2 separate regions of the Homo sapiens genome follow, and region 1 is linked to region 2. Evidence: promoter capture Hi-C in human tissues and cell types (Jung and others, 2019). All regions are on one chromosome and are shown on one strand. The core of a region is centred on a gene start or on the middle of the fragment in contact, and the rest is flanking DNA. Distances in the headings are between cores, read along the strand shown.

Region 1 (3,342 bases), core at 42-2,541, 250 kb before region 2:
GCTGGATGCTAGATTGTAGAGTTAAACAGGAGGGTCCAAGTCCTGTTCCTGGGGCTTGTACAGGCCCCAGAGTGGGAGAGGCATTAAGCAAATGTCACATGGGAAAATGTACAGTCACAAACCAAGACGACTCCTTGGGAAGTACGAACACAGTCCTATGACAGAGGGTAACAAACAAGAGAAGTGAATACATCTAGAGGGCCAACAATGAGCCTGAGCGAAAAGCTAGAGGATAGCGAGGAACCCACAACACAAGGCAGGGGTGCGGAGGGAGGCAGGAAGAAAATTCCAGGCAGAAGGAACAGCATGTGCAAGGCCCTATGGCAGGAGAAAACGGGGTATATGAAATGGATTAAATAGAGGTTCAGAGAAGGGAGGGTTCATGGTACTGGAGAGGCTGCAGGATAGGACCACCCAGGCAGGGCTGTGCGGGCCACGAGGAGTCAGGCTTTATCTGGAAAGCACACAGAGGCCATTGCAGGGTTGGCAGCTGGTTAGAGAAAGAGGATGGCTCCTCCAAGGCCAGTTAGAGGCTACTGCAGCCATTTGAAAGATGACGGTGGCTTGGACCAGGGTTGTGAGGTGCATAGAGGAAAAACAGGTGGATAGAAAGAGATGCCAAGGCTCACACTTCAGGTTAGGCCTGGGTGGGGAGCAATTCCCGCAGTTTGAGACAGAGAACTCTGGAAGAGAAGACCAAGTCCTGGAGCTCCCTCCAGGAGGGAGGATGCGGGGGAGGGAGGCATGATTGGTTTGGTTTTAGTTATGTTACACTAGAGACACCTTTTGTTTTTTGTTTTTTTAAGACGGAGTTTCACTCTGTTGCCCAGGCTGGAGTGCAGTGGCTCCAGCTCAGCTCACGGAAACCTCCACCTCCCGGGTTCAAGCGATTCTCCTGCCTCAGCCTCCCGAGTAGTTGGGACTACAGGCACCCACCACCATGCCCAGCTAATTTTTGTATTTTTAGTAGAGATGGGGTTTCACCATATTGGCCAGGCTGGTCTTGAACTCCTGACCTCAAGTGATCTGCCCACCTCGGCCTCCCAAAGTGCTGGGGTTACAGGTGTGAACCATCGTGCCCAGCCAACTGGAGATGCCTTTGAGATATCCAAAGGTAAGTGGAAGAACCCAGTGGGATACAAGAGTCTAGAGCTGGCCTGAGAAGCCCAAGCTGGGAATGTAGGTAGGAGTGTGGGTAAGCACAGAAGCTGTGGGCTTGAAGGAGCTCACCTAGGGAGAAAATATCAAGGGAGGTAAGGAAAAGGCCTAGGATGAAACTTTGACCAGCACAAGCACTTAATGGCCTTACGGAGGAGGCTGAGCCTACAGAACTGTGGCCAGAGAGGTGGGAGGGTGTGTGGTATGCAGAAGGCCAGGCCGTCAGATGTCAAGGAGAAGCGAGCAACGGTTCACAGGGTTAGCATAGTGGGCTGAATGGTGGCCCCCACAAAGCTGTCTACATGCTAATCCTAATCCCCAGAACCTGTAAATATTACCTTATATGGGTCGGGCGTGGTGGTTCATGCCTGTAATCCCAACACTTTGGGAGGCTGAGGTGGGTGGATCACTTGAGGTTAGGAGTTCAACACCAGCCTGGCCAACATGGTGAAATCCCCTCTCTATTAAAAATACAAAAATCAGCCAGGCATGGTGGCATGCACCTGTAGTCCCAGCTACTCAGGAGACTGAGGTAGGAGAATCATTTGAACCTGGGAGGCGGAGGTTGCAGTGAGCCGAGATTGAGCCACTAGCACTCCAGCCTGGGCAACAGAGCAATACTCCCTCTCAAAAAAAAAATATTAACTTATGGCGGGTGGATCACCTGAGGTCAGGAGTTCGAGACCAGCCTGGCCAACATGGTGAAACCCCATGTCTACTAAAAATACAAAAGTTAGCTGGGCATGGTGGCAGGTACCTATAATCCCAGCTACTCAGGAGGCTGAGGCAGGAGAATTGCTTGAACCTGGGGGCAGAGATTCCAGTGAGCCGAGATTAAATCACTTTACTCCAGCCTGGGTGAAAGTGCAAAACTCCACCTCAAAAAAAAAAAAAAAATTACCTTATATGGCAAAGTGTGATTATTAAATGTCTTGACAGGAAGAGTTTATCCTGGATTATCTGGTTGGGCCCTAGATGCAATCACATGTATCCTTATAAGACAGAAGCAGAGAGTTTTAAGAGAAACACACACAAGAGGAAGCAGCAACGTGACCTCAGAGGCAGAGACTGGAATGATGCAGCCACAAGCCAAGGAATGCCTAGAGCCACCAGCAACCAGAAGAGGCAAGGAATGGATTCCCCCGAGAGCCTTCAGTGGGCATGTGGCTCTGATGATATCTTGATGTTGGACTTCTGGCCCCCAGAACTGCCAGGGCACACGTTTCTGTTGGTTGAAGCCATGCAGGGTGTGGCAACTTGTCACGGCAGCCACAGAAAACTCACATGGTCAGGCCCTGCTGGAGGTCACAGGATGGAAGGGCAGAAACTTGTCCGTCGGGCTAAAAGCGCAGGCACTGGGGGCTTCAGAGGAGTAGTTCTTAACCCCGGCTGCAAGTTAGGAGCACGGGAAGTTCTGGCCAGTTCCCAAGGCCTCAACCCCATCTGAGGTCAATTAAAGAAAAATCCTTGGTGGCAGGCCCAGGTGGAGGACTTTTTTTAAAAAAACACGTAGTCAAGATTGGGAACCACTGCCGTAGAGGAACCGTTCTAGAGGCCTGAGTGAGGGTAGAATCCACATGGGAATAAGGTAAGAAAGAAGTGGAGGTAAGAAGAGGAAGAAGGTTTAGACTACTCTTTCACAATTTTGCCCCTAAAGGAACTAGCAGCCTTGGAGGGGGCAGGACGTGCATGTGGGTCAAGAGAATGGCAGGCTTTTTCAAAGGGGCATGTCTTGGGCAAGTTTAAACACCCATGGGGATGATTGAGGCTGAGTGAAAGGAGTTGCATGAGGTTACTGGGAAGGTAGGAGGAAGTCAGAAAGTCAGAAGGTCAAACCAGGCCTGGCCTTGGAGCCCCTGAGAACAGGAGGATCAGGCAGTGAATGGGGGCGGTAGTCACGTCCGCTTGTGGGTGGGACTGGTGGGGGGAGGTCTGCATGGCTACTTCTGGCTAAAGTATTTATTCATTTATTTATTTGTTGTTGTTGTTTTTTTTTTTTTGAGATGGAGTCTGGCTCTGTTGCCCAGGCTGGAGTGCAGTGGCAAGATCTCAGCTCATTGCAGCCTCTGCCTCCCAGGTTCAAGGGATTCTCGTGCCTCAGCCTCCCAAGTAGCTGGGATTACAGGCGCCCACCACCATGCCCGGCTAATTTTTGTACTTTTAGTAGAGACAGGGTTTCACCAT
Region 2 (3,720 bases), core at 1,221-3,720:
ATACCCTGCACATATATTTATTTCTATGGTTGCACCTACCACATTGTATTTTAACATTTATCTGTATCGCTGTCAGTTCATAGCTGTGGTTTGCTGACGCTTGGCCTAGAATGCAGAGATGGTGAAATAAGCTAATCCATTGAACCCTTTAACAGGCACCTAGGAATGCCTGACAAAGGGCACTTCTGTTCCCTCAATGCACTGTTGATGTCATTTGTGGTATAATCATTATTAGCCCTCTGGTCCATTAGGCTATTTTCTGGATGACGGCATAAGGCACAGTCTTGTGACATTAAAAGTTACTTAGCCTGAGTAGTCTCTAGATTACTGGTCTAGGGTCTGCCAAAGACGATCCTCATGGGGAAGTTTTTGCACTAACCTCTCCAGGATTCAAATCCAATGGTTTTGACCCAAAACCATGCTGTTTACGTTACACAACACGTTCTCAATCTTGTTCAACTTAAAAGGTGGCACAGTACAGGGGTCACTGGCACACATGCCTACATGACAGATAACATAAGTGACAAAAGCAGACTCAGGTCGAGAAGGGTCCCTGGCATTTGGGAAAGTCCATGCCCAGTCTAGAACAGGCAGCCACTCCTTGGCTTCAGCCAATTGTTGCCACACAGAAATGTGGACACAGTGTTACCAGACAAGGCAGAGAGGCAGATTTCTGTTCACACAGAAACTTTTCAGTTTAAAAAAGTGTTGGCAACTAAGTCAAACTGCTTAGAAATACTGGAGATGGCATATTGGGAGGGTAAGGAATCATCCAATTGAATTGGGGTATTTACGATGGGGGAGAAATAGCAGCTAAAGGATAAGGGCAGCTTTTGGAGAACCCTGATTGTCACACTCAAGGAACTTATATATTGTCATCTAGGTCTGAGTGCACACTAAATAATTTAAGCAAGAACAGGACACGATTAGAATGGTATTTTTAAAAGATCACTTGGCAGTTGACGGGCGAGGCTGAGACCAAATGGTGAATTAGAAGTCTGTCATTTAGCTAAGTAAGGGTAAAGGCAAGACGGCAAAGGCCTATTTACTTGGCTTTTTCTCCTACCCGACTGCAAACTCCAAGACAGCAGGGCCCCACCTGCCTTGTTCATTGCTGTGTCTCCAGCACTAAGCAAAAAGCCTGTTCAACATTTGTTGAAAGAATAAATGAACAGGAGAGAGGGAAGGCGAGAGGCATTTTGAAGGACTGAGTTTAAAAATCAACTACCTTGAAGCCGGTCGAGGTGGTTCATGTCTGTAATCCCAGCACTTTGGGAGGCTGAGGCGGGTGGATCACCTGAGGTCAGGAGTTTGAGACCAGCCCGGCCAATATGGCGAAGCCCCGTGTCTACTAAAAATACAAAAACTAGCCGAGAGTGGTGGCATGCACCTGTTATCCCAGCTACTCAGGAGGCTGAGGCAGGAGAATTGCTTGAACCTGGGAGGCAGAGATTGCAGTGAGCCAAGATTGTGACACTGCCTGGGCGACAGAAAGAGACTCTGTCTCAAAAACAGAAAACAAAACAAAACAAAACAAAACAAAATCAACTACCTTCAGAGGAGTAGAATGTTGGTAATTGTGAGAGCAGTCATGGAGGGGAGGGGAGCCATGGAGGCCTGTTTCCTTCCCTGAACTTCCTCAACGAGGGGGCATCTTAAAGAAGAAATCATGTACACAGATTTTTGTGGGTTTTTTTTGGAGACAGGGTCTCACTCTGTCTCCCAGGTTGGAGTGCAGTGGCATGACCATAGCTCACTGCAGCCTACAACTCCCGGCCTCAAGCAATCCTCTCACCTCAGCTTCCCAAAGTGCTGAGATTACAGGCGCGAACCACTGCGCTCGACCCTACACAGGTTTTTTAAAAAGACGTTTGTGCATTGGATTCCTGGCACTTCACGTGGCCTCTTCAGTCTACCAAAGAAGGAAAAGGTAAGTACCCTGAAGGATTGAAAGGATTAAATGAACATTGAGGGATGAGCAATTTCTGTTCTTCCCTGGCTCCAGCATTACCAAAGCACACAGTAAGAGGACTGACATCGGCCTCCGACCCAGTGAGGATTACTTTCGGGGTGGAGGGGGAACTGCTAAACCTCGAATCTCCGGGACTGGCCCTGGCGCGTTTCCAGTCCCAGCAGAAAGGGCAATCCCCATCCAGACCACACTCCTAGTCCTCCTTATTCCCACACAGCCCGTATCTTGACCACCCCCAGCTCCGCCCTCTCTCCTCCCACCTCCTTTTCCCGCTCCCCCGCCCCATTTCCTTCTTCTCCGCCCACCTCCTCCTGGGTCCCTCCCCCGGCCATCCGCCCTGCCCCGGCCCCTGCAACCCTGCCTTTCGCTCTTCTTCCTCCTCCCTTCCGTCTGCGCCCCTCCCGTGGGGCCGTGGCAACCCCGTGCCTCGCTTGCCCAATGAGAACACGGTTTGGGGCGGGGCGCGGCCAGGACCGGAGCGGAAGTGGCGATCGGAGCGGAAGTGGAGCTACCGCCACCGCCGCCGCCGATTCCGGAGCCGGGGTAGTCGCCGCCGCCGCCGCCGCTGCAGCCACTGCAGGCACCGCTGCCGCCGCCTGAGTAGTGGGCTTAGGAAGGAAGAGGTCATCTCGCTCGGAGCTTCGCTCGGAAGGGTCTTTGTTCCCTGCAGCCCTCCCACGGTGAGTGCGGCGCGGGGTCCGACCGGGGCCCCCGGGGGCCCAAACTCGAAGCCCCTCTCTGGCTGCTGCGACGACGGCGGCCCAGTGGGTGGGCCCCGTGGGGTAGCGGCGCGCTGCCTCTTTCGCTCCGCGCGGCCGCCGGCGGCGAGGCCAGACCTCGCAGCGGCCCCTCCCTGTTTCCGGGGCCGGGCCCTTTACCTCTTGGAGAGGCTCGGGCCGCCTGAGGTCCTGCCGGCCGGGCGGGGTGCAACTCCGTACTGTGCCGTAAGGGACAGCGGAGCCGGGGATCCCGGACCCTCCCTCACTATCTGCTTCGGGCCCCACGCGACCCCTCCCTGCGTCTTGGTCGGCAAGAACGTCCCCTTCAGCCCTGTCACCTCTGCTCCGTGCTTTCTGGTTTCCAGAAATTAAAATTTAATCAAACGCGGATGAGTTTTCTAGCCCCAGTCCCCGTGTTTGGCTCCTCCTGGATGAGTAAGGGGTTTAACCTTGGGAGACAGCAGTGGGGGAACCCCCTCCCATTTTGCAGTAAAACCATTTCATCATCCTTCACTGGTTATGGAGCCTGGCAGGACCCAAGATTCCCTAGGAAGGGAATTGGGTTTGAATCAAGAAAATCTGTTTGTTGGAGCCGGTTACTGAGTCAGGCCGGATCCCCAGGAAAAAATATCAGGGGGTGAGAATCGGAGTATTTTCTCACAGTATTTACCGTCATTTAATGCCAGATTCTTTTGTGTCTTTACCCCAAATTCCCCCATATTGTGTGTTAGCACGTTTTTCGGTCTGAAATTTGCCCGGTGGCTTCCTGGTCGGGGGGTGGGGAGCGGAGGGAAGAAGAGGTGGGAAGGTGAGTGCATCTTTGCCGCAAATGGAGAACTCCCATATAATGGGGTTTTCAGAGGTGGCAGCCTTGGTAAGCAATTTGCCAACCTTTCTGTAAAATACATGTTTCTTGTCGTTGCCTTCATTGCATTTCTCTTTGGTAAGGCTAGATAGCATCAGGTCCTGATTTTGCTTGCCCTGTGTGGGAGATGGAATTTGGCAAGATGATGCTATGAACATAAAATC

Evidence for each region. Contacts are between HindIII fragments. The study calls those that stand out against the background at their distance.
Region 1: a fragment that was not itself captured here is called in contact with the fragment with the promoter of YWHAB in region 2 in 1 of the 25 tissues and cell types used here (dorsolateral prefrontal cortex).

Annotation. Positions count from the first base shown.
Region 1 is chr20:44,638,628-44,641,969 of GRCh38, forward strand. The region is part of intron 1 of ADA (adenosine deaminase); the gene reads right to left. Among named protein-coding and RNA genes, the nearest start is that of ADA, 11 kb to the right of the region's middle. RefSeq lists an enhancer at 1-3,342. The HindIII fragment of the contact is 5,650 bases long and covers 1-3,342 here.
Region 2 is chr20:44,883,235-44,886,954 of GRCh38, forward strand. It overlaps YWHAB (tyrosine 3-monooxygenase/tryptophan 5-monooxygenase activation protein beta), which reads left to right and starts at 2,471. Exons shown (of 6, transcript NM_139323.4): 1 at 2,471-2,652. RefSeq lists silencers at 2,095-2,154, 2,215-2,764 and an enhancer at 2,201-2,817. The HindIII fragment of the contact is 9,752 bases long and covers 1-3,720 here.